Linked DNA regions of Homo sapiens: regions 1 and 2 are each linked to region 3. The links are contacts of gene promoters, found by promoter capture Hi-C in human tissues and cell types (Jung and others, 2019). All regions are on one chromosome and are shown on one strand. Each heading gives the region's core, a stretch centred on a gene start or on the middle of the fragment in contact. The rest is flanking DNA. Distances are from core to core; before and after follow the strand shown.

Region 1 (4,320 bases), core at 14-2,513, 170 kb after region 3:
GAATCCTGCCTCCCTGTGAGGAAATCTAACAACAGGGACTAAGGCTGCCAGGGATTGAGTTAAACTCAGGCGCTGGGGAAGGTGGAGGGGAGAGGCAAGGGGTGTGAGGCTGACGAGGAGGAAGGGTGTCTGTCCTCAGATCTTCTGGCTTTCATAAAACATAATGGAGGCTAAGTGGGGGCGGGAAAAGTTTTGATGGCACAGGCCGGGCTGGAGGGGAGATGCCTGGCACCTCCCTCCCACTACCTCCTGAAGGCGCTTCTGGCCGACAGGGGAGGCGGACCCGACCACAGCACTCCCGGCCAATCAGGAAGGCGCCTGGCGTTCCCTGGCGACCATTAACGCCCAGCCGTCCGCGGGGTTGGAGGAGGCGGGGCGGCTAGAGCACGAGCCCCATCGGCCAACCGCCGGGCTTCCTGGGGCGGAGAAGCTGTGCCTCTGGGAGCCGGGGCGGGGCTGTCTCCTTGGCAACTATCCTAGCCCTCGAGGAGGGAGGAGGGAGGAGGAGGATCAGGGGAGCCGAGCTGGGTGGGGGCCGGAGGAACGGGAGCGGGCGCGCGCAGGTGCCGGGGAGCGGAGTTCCTGGAGGGGGTCCCAGGCTCAAGGACCTCGGCGAGGCCAAGGGGAGTCCGTCCCGGTTCCCGAGGCGCTGCCGGAGCTGACCCGGAGGCCCGGGAGGGGAGGGAGCGAGACACCGCCCCCGCTGGCGCCGGGAAGCGTCGCTCCTTCTCGCTGACCTTGGTCTCGCTTGTCGCCTCGCCCTTGGCCACACGCACCGACGACGCGGGGCCCGGGAGATGGACAGACGGGCCTCTGGAGGGACGGAGACCTAGAACATAGGCACACACACTGCCCCGGTAGCCCCGCGGGCTCCGGGGCGTCCGGTCCTCACCCACCCCGTGGCCGGGCCCCTCCAGCCCAGGGTTAATGCCAACGAGTTTCCACCTCCAGCGGCTCCTAGAGAGGCCGCGGCGCGAGCCGGCGGGGGGACCTGGCCGCGGACGGACACTTCCTGTGCGGGGGAGGGTGGGGGGGTGCTGGGCGGCCGTTGGACAGTGCAGCCCAGCCCGGGGCCGGGGTCCAGAAGGTGGGGGCTCGGGCGGGAGCGGGGGCCGGGGGCCGCCGGGGTAGTCGCGAAGCCCCTCATCCCCGAGGCCGCGACGCGCGGGGGCCAGTGAGGGCCACGGGGAGGCCGAGACCTTGGGAGGGGGCGGGGCCGCGGGCAGGGGAGGGGCCCGGCGCGCTGGAGAGGCGCGGGGTCAAGACGTCCGGCCTCGGGGGCCCGGGCTGGGCCGCCGAGTCCCCTGGGCGGCGCTGAGCGGGCGGGAGGCGGGGGCCCGCGGCTCGGGGCAACCGAGGCCGGGTCGCGGGATCGGCCGCCATCGCCGCCGCCGCTGCACTGGGAGCCCGCGGGGATGGAGCGGGAGGCGTTGCCGTGGGGCCTCGAGCCCCAGGATGTGCAGAGTTCTGACGAAATGAGGAGCCCCGAAGGGTACCTCAGAGGTGAGGAGGGAGCGCCCGTCCGAGGAGTGGACTTGCGCGCAGGAGAAGGGGCTGTGGCTCCAGGGAGGGAGCGAGGGCCCGGGGCTGGGACACCTGGGACTCGAAGGAGGGGCCGGCGGGGACTGGGGTGTCTTGGGTCAGCTGAGGGGGGCGTGGGAATTTCAGCACTTGTCTAGGGGCCAGCGACCCTGCATGTGAGGTGGGAGGTGTGTGGTTGCTAATGGACCAAATGACCTTCCAGGTCTCACACGATCTGGATTCTCTCATCCTGCAGGCAACATGAGTGAGAATGAGGAAGAGGAAATTTCTCAGCAAGAAGGCAGTGGGGACTATGAAGTCGAAGAGATACCATTTGGGCTTGAACCCCAGAGCCCTGGGTTTGAGCCACAAAGCCCAGAGTTTGAACCCCAAAGCCCCAGATTTGAGCCTGAAAGCCCGGGGTTTGAGTCCCGAAGCCCTGGGCTTGTGCCCCCAAGCCCTGAGTTTGCACCCAGAAGCCCTGAATCAGATTCTCAGAGCCCTGAGTTTGAATCCCAGAGCCCTAGGTATGAACCCCAAAGCCCTGGCTATGAACCTCGGAGCCCCGGGTATGAACCCCGGAGCCCTGGCTATGAATCTGAGAGCTCTAGATATGAATCCCAGAACACTGAGCTCAAAACCCAAAGCCCAGAATTTGAAGCTCAAAGTTCCAAATTCCAGGAAGGTGCGGAGATGCTTCTGAACCCCGAGGAAAAGAGTCCTTTGAATATCTCCGTAGGAGTTCACCCCCTGGACTCCTTCACTCAGGGGTTTGGGGAGCAGCCCACAGGGGACCTGCCCATAGGGCCACCTTTTGAGATGCCCACAGGGGCCCTGCTGTCTACACCGCAGTTTGAGATGCTTCAGAATCCCCTGGGTCTCACAGGAGCCCTTCGAGGTCCAGGTCGGCGGGGTGGCCGGGCCAGGGGTGGGCAGGGCCCTCGGCCTAACATCTGTGGCATCTGCGGGAAGAGCTTCGGGCGGGGCTCCACCCTGATCCAGCACCAGCGCATCCACACCGGTGAGAAGCCCTACAAATGTGAGGTCTGCAGCAAGGCCTTCTCCCAGAGCTCTGACCTCATCAAACACCAGCGCACCCACACTGGCGAGCGGCCCTACAAATGTCCCCGTTGCGGCAAGGCCTTCGCCGACAGCTCTTACCTGCTTCGCCACCAGCGCACTCACTCTGGCCAGAAGCCCTACAAGTGCCCACATTGTGGCAAGGCCTTCGGCGACAGCTCCTACCTCCTGCGACACCAGCGCACCCACAGCCACGAGCGGCCCTACAGCTGCACCGAGTGCGGCAAGTGCTATAGCCAGAACTCGTCCCTGCGCAGCCATCAGAGGGTGCACACCGGTCAGAGGCCCTTCAGCTGTGGCATCTGCGGCAAGAGCTTCTCCCAGCGGTCGGCCCTTATCCCCCATGCCCGCAGCCACGCCCGGGAGAAGCCCTTCAAGTGCCCTGAGTGCGGCAAGCGCTTTGGCCAGAGCTCGGTGCTGGCCATCCACGCCCGCACCCACCTGCCAGGCCGCACCTACAGCTGCCCCGACTGCGGCAAGACCTTCAATCGCTCCTCCACTCTCATCCAGCACCAGCGCTCCCACACGGGCGAGCGGCCCTACAGGTGCGCCGTGTGCGGCAAGGGCTTCTGCCGCTCCTCCACGCTTCTGCAGCATCACCGGGTCCACAGTGGCGAGCGGCCTTACAAGTGCGATGACTGCGGAAAGGCCTTCTCCCAGAGCTCCGACCTCATCCGCCACCAGCGGACCCACGCGGCGGGCCGGCGCTGACCTGGGGCCCCAGCAGGGGTGGGAGGTGTGGGCAGAAGATAAGGGGCCAGGGAGCTAGAGGAACCTTTAGGGAGGATAGTGGAGAAGCCGCAGGAGAATGGAGGAGCTGAGGATGCTGGAAGAAGAGAACCAGGGTGGAGGAAGTGACATGCCCTGGAGACTTGTGGGAAGTGGGTTGGAGGGAGGCCAGGCCGGCAGCGGGAGGCCCTGGGAGAAATGGAGAGAGGTCAGCGGAGGGCTGGCCTCAGCCGCGGCTCCTTGGTGGGTGCCTGGCTTGGCAACTGCTAGAGCAGGGAGGGGGGAGGGCAGGGGATTACCTAATTAGAGTGGGTTAGCTTAGATTGGTAGCTGCTGAAACTCTCGTTGAGTCAGGAGCGGGTAAAAGGTAGGTGGGGTGGGGAGTGGGGCCCCGGGGTGGGGCCTGGGCCTCTGCGTGCAAACCCCAGCCTCCCTCTTCTTCCTCAGGCTTTGGAGCCCCTGAGTTTGAGTTCAATAAAAACTTTATGTGGTAAACGAGACTTGTCCTTAAAATGTGTGCGTGCACAGCGCCCTGGGAAGTGGGAGACACCAGTAGTAGCCTAGGGCCTTATCCGGGAAGTGCTTTGCTGTTGCTGCTGTTAGAAAGCGGGTCTTGCTGTGTTGCAGCAGGCCACCGCACCTGGCTGGAAGTGCTATTTGTTTCTTTTTTTTTTTTTCTTTTTTTTGAGACGGAGTCTTACGCTGTCACCCAGGCTGGAGTGCAATGGTGTGGTCTCGACTCACCGCAACCTCTGCCTCCTGGGTTCAAGTGATTCTCCTGCCTCAGCCTCCCAAGTATCTGGGATTACAGGCGCCCGACACCACACCTGGCTAATTTTCACCATGTTGGCCAGGCTGGTCTCGAACTCCTGACCTCACGTGATCTGCCTGCCTCAGCCTCCCAGAGTGCTGGGATTAGAGGTGTGAGCCACTGCGCCTGGCCTGTTTTTCTTTTTTTTTAATTTTGAAGGCAGTATCTTGCTCTGTGGC
Region 2 (4,470 bases), core at 627-3,126, 220 kb after region 3:
CAGCCTGGGCAACAGAGTGAGACCTTGACTCTAAAAAAAAAAGAAAAAGAAAATTCCTGTTTTGCCCACAGCCTTCCTCTGAGCAAGTTGGGTTGGCCATAGCTCTTGCTGGAACAGCAGCAAGGTGTGAACCGTCTTACCCATGAACACCTGCTGTCAAGACCTCTGGTTCTATCTTGGATGCAAAATGCTTCTCCAATCTCCATCCACACAGACATGGGCCTATTGCGGGTCCTGTTCATGGATTTCCACCCTGGTTTATACAACCATTGTCTCTCATCTGGATTTTTCAGTAGCCTTCTAACTGGCCCTATCACTTCCACCCGCCCTTGCCCCCTCTACAGTCTAATATCAACCCTGCAGCCAGAGGGATCTTTTAAAAAACATAGATCATCACTCCTCTACTCAAAACCTCTAATGACTTCTCATCTTACTCAGAGGAAAGCCAAAGTCCTCACTATGGTCTCCAAGTCACTAACCCATCCAGACCCTCATGATCTCTCTGACCTCATCACCTACTATTTTCCCCCCTCACTTATTTCTCTCCGGCCACATTGGTGTCCTGGCTCTTCTTTTTTAATTTATTTTTAATTTCTTAGAGTTAAGATCTTGCTCTGTTGTCCAGGCTGGAGTGCAATGGTGTGATCATAGCTCACTGCAGCTTCAAACTCCTGGCTCATAGGCCAGGTGTGGTGACTCACACCTGTAATCCCAGCACTTTGGGAGGGTGAGGCAGGTGGATCACCTGAGGTCAGGAGTTTGAGTCCAGCCTGGCCAACATGGTGAAAGCCTATCTCTACTAAAAATACAAAAAAAATTAGCCAGGCGTGGTGGCACAGGTCTGTAATCCCAGCTACTTGAAAGGCGGAGGCAGGAGAATGGCTTGAACCTGGGAGGTGGAGGTTGCAGTGAGCCGAGATCATGCCATTGCACTACAGCCTGGGCAACAAGAGCGAAACTCCATCTCAAAAAACAAAAACAAAAACCAAAAACCAAACAAACAAACAAAAACTTCTGGGCTCAAAAGATCCTCCTGCCTCAGCTTCCCAAAGCCCTGGGATTACAGACTGTGCACCTGGCTTAGACTTTCTCTTGGATTTAATTAGTACAGAGTAGATTTCTGTTACGTACAACCAAAAGAATCTGCAGTAAAATTGTTCCACTTCAATTCAGACAATAAACTGCCCCTTGCTGTACCTACCTACTGAGTTCCCATGCCCTGCAGCTGGAAGTGGGTAGATCACCCAGAACAAATCACAGGACACGTGCTCTCCTGCAAAAGGGAACTCACGCGACATAATTGATGGCACCAAAGGTATTGGTCAACAGCAACATGTGCTTTACATGCTTCAGCAGAGCATCAGGGTCCTTCCGTTTAACATAATCTGAGAAATCAAATTCTGTTTTGTAGCTTGTGGAAAACTGAACAGCAGCAAACTAGAAAAGGAAGGAAGAAATGACATTCAGTTATATATCCCTTTCCATTTGTCTGTTCCAAACTCTACTTCTTTTTTTTTTTTTTTTTTTTTTAGATGGAGTTTCGCTCTTGTTGCCCAGGCTGGAGTGCACTGGCACAATCTTGGCTCACTGCAACCTCTGCCTCCCGGGTTCCAGCGATTTTCATGCCTCAGCCTCCCAAGTAGCTGCGATTACAGGCACGTGCCACCACACCCGAATATTTGTGTGTGTGTGGTGTGTGTGTGTGTGTGTGTGTGTGTGTGTGTGTGTGTGTTTTTAGTAGAGACGGTGTTTCACCATATTGGCCAGGCTGGTCTCGAACTCCTCACCTCAGGTGATCCACCTGCCTCAGCCTCCCAAAGTGCTAGGATTACAGGCATGAGCCACCGTGCCCAGCCCCAAACTCTACTTCTTCTTTTTCAAAACAGGGTCTTGTTCTGTCTCCCAGGCTGGAGTGCACGGTCACAATCATAGCTCACTGCAGCCTCAGCCTCCCAGGCTCGAGCCATCCTCCCTCGTCAGCCTCCGAAGTAGCTGGGACTTCAGGCACGTGCCACCACACTTGGCTAGTTTTTATTTTTTGTAGAAATGGGGTCTTGCTATGTTGCCTAGGCTGGTCTCGAACTCCTGGCTTCAAGTGATCCTCCCGGCTAAGCCTCCCAATGTGCTGGGATTACAGGTGTGAGCCACTATGCCTGGCTCAATCTCTTCTTATGCAGGACCTGGGCAACCCAACTCCACATCCTTGCCTCAGATAATTCTTTTGAAAATGAGGCAATATACAAATAAACACAGAAATAAAATGAAATAAACCTTGCTCCCTCATGTAACACTGTGTGTTGAGCTCCTGTTTTCTGGGTCCACCTATGTCACTGATAGGGATGGGTTCCAGCAGCCATATTTCTGCTGAGTGACGCTGCTTAACTAGATACAGTTGGCTGGGCCGGGGATCAACACCTGACTGAAGCTACGCCAGCCAGAACCTCTTCTCTGAGAACTGGAAATTTGCAAAGGGAGGTGTTGGTTGAGGGGAAGGTAAAAAACCCTCTTGGAACTTTAACACATGAACTTAGGAGCTTTCCATAGGTCTATGTGGTCTAAAGGCGCTAAGGGAGCCAGTCTACGGAGACTGAGAAAAGAGAAGAAGGAAGCAAAGACGCAAAAAGAAACAGAAATGAGAACTAGCTGGGCACAGTGGCTCATGCCTGTAATCCCAGCACTTTGGGAGGCCAAGGCAGGAGGATCTCTTGAGAGATCCAGGAGTTTGGGACCAGTCTGGGCAACACAATGATAAACCATCTCTACAGAAAATTTAAAAATTAGCCACGCACAGTGGTGCACATGGGTAGTCCCAGCTAGTTGGGAGGATCATTTGAGCCCAGGAGTTTGAGGCTACAGTGAGCTATGATCGTGCCACCATGATTCCAGCCTTGGGGACACAGTGAGACCCTGTCTCAAAAAGAAAAAATGGCTGTGCACGGTGGCTCACGCCTGTAATCCCAGCACTTTGGGAGGCCAAGGTGGGCAGATCACAAGGTCAGGAGTTCAAGACCAGCCTGGCAACATGGTGAAACACCATCTCTACTAAAAATACAAAAATCAGCTGGGTGTAGTGGCAGTTGCCTGTAATACCAGCTACTTGGGAGGCTGAGGCAGGTGACTTGCTTGAACCTGGGAGGCAGTGAGTCGAGATTGTGCCATTGCACTCCAGCCTGGGCAACAAGAGCAAAACTCCATCTCAAAAAAAAAAAAAAAAAAAAAAAAAAAAAGGAAATGAGAACTAGAGAGACTCCTAGAAGCTTTCTACTCCCTGGTTCTTGTCCCTTCCAGAGGCCCAGTTATAGCCATGCCCATAGGCTCTGAGGATTCCACATACTAACATTTCCTTTCATGGTTTAAGTCAGTTCAGGTAGGCATCTATTGCATGCAACCAAGAATCCTAACTAACTTTTTTACCTGGTACGAAGTGTTGCTGAGTTTCTTCATCACATCCTTCATGAAGTCCAGAATTTTCTGAAATTCATCTGGCTGCAAGCTCATCGAACCATCAAACAGAAATACCAGGTCTACGTTGCCCTTGATACATTCTGCAGAAGCCAGACGCAAGGGACCCAGTGAAGCATCTCTGGTGTTTGACCTGCCCATGCTGGTTCTCTCTAGGGACAGCCATTTGGAGGTATTTTTACCCAATGAGTCCCCAGTTCCTTACCCTGAAAACCAGGGCGCCCCTGCAGCATGGGACCCTGCAGATTCTGGCGGAAGAGGTAACACAGGCCACTCAGATAGGTGTTCTGGTCACACGTTCGAGACAGCCCAGGGTCACAGGCCTAAAGAAAGCAAAGGCCAAAGATTTGGGTCTCCTATTTGCTATGTGTCTTTTGGGCAACATCAACCAAAACTAGGAACGTTCAGAGTCCTTGTCCTCTTTCTCACTTCCTCTATCCAACTGGTTACCAAGGCAAGGAATGTCCGCCTCCACAGTCTCTACTGTCCATCCCTCCCATCCTACCAATGCTCTATGCCAATGGATGCTCACCGCCTGTAGGACTGGTGGTGAGTCTGGACTCCTTATCTGGGCTTACACTGGGCACGACCCCACATTTCCAGGTCCATCTTCTCCTAGTCCCAATCTCTTTTTCTGTGTTCCAGCCAAATCAAATTATCAAGATTCCCAGAATATACAGTGCCTCTTTCTTTCTTTCTTTTTTTTTTTTTTTTTTGAGATGGAGTCTTCGCTCTATCGCCTAGGCTGGACTGCATGGCATGATCTCGGCTCACTGCAAGCTTCGCCTCCCGGGTTCACGCCATTCTCCTGCCTCAGCCTTCTGAGTAGCTGGGACTACAGGCACCCGCCACTACACCCGGCTAATTTTTTGTATTTTTAGCAGAGACGGGGTTTCACCGTGTTAGCCAGGATGGTCTTGATCTCCCAACCTCGTGATCTGCCTGCCTCGGCCTCCCAAAGTGCTGGGATTACAGGCATGAGCCACCGCGCCCGGCCATGCCTCTTTC
Region 3 (3,909 bases), core at 778-3,277:
CCTACTCCAGTACTGATAGAAGTTAAACTATTCTTAAAGCGTATGGTATTAGAAGCATGGTGCCACGACCTCCATTTCCAGCCTAGCCTAATTCAACCTTTTTCAGGTAACGAGGCGCTTTTACACTCTTGGAGATAATATTACACTAATGTTAAATGGAATGTGAGTATCCAACAGACCTGATATACTACAGCCCAGCCCCCGAGCACCAAAGATTCTCCAAAACTCTCCACAAATATTCCCCTGCCACATTTCTTCTGCCTCACACTCAACAATCCACAAAGCAGAAGCAGAGAAGGAACTCTTCCCACTTTCAAACCTGTGTCTGTAGGACTGGGAGCTGAGGGTGAGCAGGGGAGGGGCTGCTCTGCATGGTCCCACTCCCAGGCTCCCCCTTGGATGCCTGAAGAATGACTGGGTTGTTATCACCAGTACTGCTGGCCGAGGGGCTGGCGTCCGGCTGCAGGGCATGCTGGGAGCTGGCCTCATTCTGGGCCACCGGCCACCGGGACCCGCCTTCCAGGGCCCGGGGCCCACCAGGGCGTCCCAGCCTCCGCTCAGGTCCACCAGCCTCTGGAGCACCTAAAGTAGGGTTAAAAAAAAAAAAAAAGACAGAAATGCAGTTAAAGGGGATGAAAAAGTATTTTTAAAAAACCAGAAATAACACTGAATAAAGAGAAACACAGAAATTACAGGTTACATTTCTTGAGCACTTACTATGTATAAGATACTTTTAGTACCTGTTTGATGTGTTCTATAATCCTCACACCTACCTTAAAAACCAAGTGCTTTTCACAGCATAACAAATATTGACTTCCTCCTACACACAACGGATATAGCCATGCAGAAAGGATTCCCGACCTAAATGTAGCTTACATTCTAATATAATCTGTTTTGTAAGTTACGAAGTTAAGACCTTATGATTTGCGGAAGGTTACACAGTAAAAAAGTGATAGGAGGGCTTCAATCCACAGTCTGATGCCAAAACCAAGGAAAACCTGCTACTCTTCCTGGTAGAGCCAGGTTGACCACGTTTTCCTCAACCCACAGCCTCAGTTCTGTTGTTGTACTATAATCAAACCCTCTACAGAAAAATCACATGCAAACATTCCCATGCTTCTCTAGAGTGAAAATCCCCAATACGGACCTATAATTGCTTTATCTCAAACATTTCTCCCATTAGCATCAGCACACAAAATGGTAGCAGATCCCTCACCTGTGTGAGCTGAGACCACACCCCCTGTGAAAGTCTGCACTTCCACGGTGCCGCCGTACTGAAGGGAATCACACCTGAAACATCCATCAAAGCGTATTATTTACTCCAGTTTTTTGAGACGTTTAAATATACCCAAATCAGTTAAAAGACTAGAAACAGAAAAACTACAGTAGTAGGAAAATCTCACATTTCAGGGAAATGCAAATCATGTTTTGTGAATTCCGGAGGGACATACGATCCTGCCTGGGGGCAGGAGCAGGAAAGGAGTGAAGAAAGAAAGTTCAAAAATTTTAAGTGTAAAGGCTCCAACCACAGAATGGAAGACAAAAAAAAAATACAGCAAAAAAAAGCTGTCACATCCAGAACCTCAGAAAGGTGCTACCTGCCTGCGGGCCTTTCCAGTGAGGGCTGAACGCAGAAGTGAGAGTGGAACTCCCGGGAAGAGTCAACAAACAGGCTGGTCACAGGAAAATCCGCCCAGGATTCAGGGCAGGGCGCTGTATATCCCATACCTGCGCCTTGAGACACTTCCCCAAATACAAGAACCACAGCAAAAGGAGACTCAGGAGCAGTCAAAAGCGAGAGGCCGCACTGCCAAGAACCACGCGCCGGAAACAGGCAGTGTGAACCCGCAGGAGGCCCGGAAATGCTTCCCCAGTGTTTAAGGAAATTCCTAAACCACAGTGCCGGCTTTGATTCACTCCCTACTCCGCCACACGTTCCCAAGACCCGAGCTCACCAGAAGCCAACAAGCCTTAACTCTTGACTTCAGGTTTCGTGACCATCTCCCTAGCCCTCCCGACGGACTGACCTCGCGTGACCCCTGACCTCTGCCCAAGTTGCCACTAGCCCTGAGATAGCCCCGCCCCCTCCAGACTCCCACCCCACCCAACGTGCGCGCCGGGCGGGGGAGGGGCCCGCGCGTGCGCGGCTGGAGGCGGAGCGAGCCGGCTGCGCGCACGGCCCAGGGGCTCCCGCCAGAACCCGAGCCCACGCACACAAGGGTCGCGGGGCTGGGAAGCTCGTCATCCAAGCCCGTCAGGGAGCCCCCCCATCACCCGACCGCGAAAGGCTGAGAGAAGGGAGGGTTCGTGCCACCAGGTCCTGGTCCCCCGGCTAGATGTGGTGGGCGCGCGCCCCGACTACTCGTCCCACGCCCCCCTTCCTCTTCCCGCGCGCCCCTGAGGGGTGACTGGGTTGGTGGGCGGGCAGGAGCGCACCTGGGTCCGTCCTCTCAGGGCTCGCTCGCTCGCTCGCTCGCTCAGGCACGCGTGCGCAGAAGGGCGGGAAGGGAGAGGAGACACGCCGGGGCCCAGCGCCGGCCGGCCTGACCCCCTCAGTCTGTCTCTATGGGCGCGCGCCGACAGCCTCGCGCACCGGCCCCGGGGCCCCGGCTGAGGGTGCGCGCGCAGCACCCCGGGAAGGTGGGGGGGAGGCGGTGGCGGAAAGATGCGCGCGCAGTCAGCCGTCATGGGAGGGGGAACTGTGGGGCGTTCGCCATCTTGTCTCCCTCTCCTTACCTGCGTCCTCGGGGGCGTGCGCACCACCCCCCCTCCCGCCTAGGAGGGGGGAGGGCCCCCTCTTGGCCACCGCCTTCGCGGCCTTTAAACTCCCCTGGAGACTGCGGCTACTGCCACCGCCTTGCCTCCACTGCCTCTTCGCGCAGCACACAGATGCGGACGGTGGGTGGGAAAAAGGGCAGACGCTACTCCCAGCGAACCGCCGCTGCCGCTCCCGAGGCCTCACCAAAATGGCCGCCGCCGTCTCGGCCGCCACCACCACCACTACCACCACCACTCGCTCGGAATCGCTATCGCCGGCGCGGCCCGTCTTCTCGCGAGAGACAGTAACTGGAGGGTGGGGGAACGGGGAGGCTCGCGTGCTAGCGTAGGGTGCAGCACGGTGCGCAAGGCAGCCTGGGAGGTGTAGTCTCCCAGAGGCTGCGCGCTCGCCCTTCCTCGGAGCGCCTTTACCGTTTGCCCCTAGATCTACCTGGGGCTGCATTGCGGCTGCCAGCTCGGACCACCGCCACCTCCCTTTTTATTTACAGATCACCCAGTAAGCTGCAGCAAGTTAGCAGTGGAACCTGGGCCTCCCGATTCCCATGGCAGCCCACTTCTGTAGCGCTGCTTCGTTTTACGCGAGGATGGTTTCCTGATAGCTTTCAAACACCTTTGCCATCTCTTCGCAAACTTTCTAGATTAAGAATCCCTTTGAGAATCTGATACCTTTACCCCAGAATAGAACAATAAATAACAGCTACCTTCTACTGACACTACTTGGTGCCTTGATTATTTCTTTTAATCCTAACTGCTCCATTTTACAAACGAATTGAGGCTCAGGCGTTAAAACACAGTGACAGATCCTGAAGTCAAGATTCCTAGCCAAGCAGTCTAAGCCACAAGAATGCACTCGCTGTCATAAAATTTTACCACCTAAAGCCCCCGCTAAGAGGCCAGGTTAGGAAGCCCTGATGAAGCTCCCCTTCCTCCATTCAGTTTAGCTCTTCCCTGCGAAGAGGATTGTTGGTCCCATTTTACAGATGAAGTTTGGGTTGAAAGAAAAGTGGATGATGCCCATCTTTTCTAGACCCTCCTCCCATCACCCCCAGAAGAGGGGATCCCAGGCCAGAGCCTGAATTGGACCTAGCCTTGTGCCATTAACTCCTTGCTATGTGACCTTGAGCAATTAAC

What was found. The method cuts DNA at HindIII sites, captures the fragments that hold promoters and counts their contacts. A contact is called where the count stands out against the background at its distance.
Region 1: a contact is called between the fragment with the promoter of ZNF768 here and the fragment with the promoter of SRCAP in region 3, in 1 of the 25 tissues and cell types used here (dorsolateral prefrontal cortex).
Region 2: a fragment that was not itself captured here is called in contact with the fragment with the promoter of SRCAP in region 3 in 1 of the 25 tissues and cell types used here (stomach).

The regions. Positions count from the first base shown.
Region 1 is chr16:30,523,509-30,527,828 of GRCh38, reverse strand. ZNF768 (zinc finger protein 768) reads left to right here and starts at 1,263. Exons shown (of 2, transcript NM_024671.4): 1 at 1,263-1,503; 2 at 1,778-3,825. The coding sequence starts at 1,416. The coding sequence ends at 3,312. RefSeq lists enhancers at 1-177, 1,758-1,817 and silencers at 248-1,077, 1,168-1,487, 1,508-1,557. The HindIII fragment of the contact is 23,531 bases long and covers 1-4,320 here.
Region 2 is chr16:30,478,406-30,482,875 of GRCh38, reverse strand. It overlaps ITGAL (integrin subunit alpha L), which reads right to left. Exons shown (of 31, transcript NM_002209.3): 5 at 3,668-3,785; 6 at 3,415-3,545; 7 at 1,292-1,437. Among named protein-coding and RNA genes, the nearest start is that of ITGAL, 7.9 kb to the right of the region's middle. The HindIII fragment of the contact is 3,748 bases long and covers 3-3,750 here.
Region 3 is chr16:30,697,289-30,701,197 of GRCh38, reverse strand. SRCAP (Snf2 related CREBBP activator protein) reads right to left here and starts at 2,027. Exons shown (of 34, transcript NM_006662.3): 1 at 1,956-2,027; 2 at 1,217-1,290; 3 at 320-582. The coding sequence starts at 373. LOC730183 (a long non-coding RNA gene) reads left to right here and starts at 2,138. Exons shown (of 2, transcript NR_144637.2): 1 at 2,138-2,317; 2 at 3,267-3,491. RefSeq lists silencers at 2,007-2,236, 2,377-2,786 and enhancers at 1,956-2,250, 2,907-3,096, 3,127-3,216. The HindIII fragment of the contact is 12,049 bases long and covers 1-3,909 here.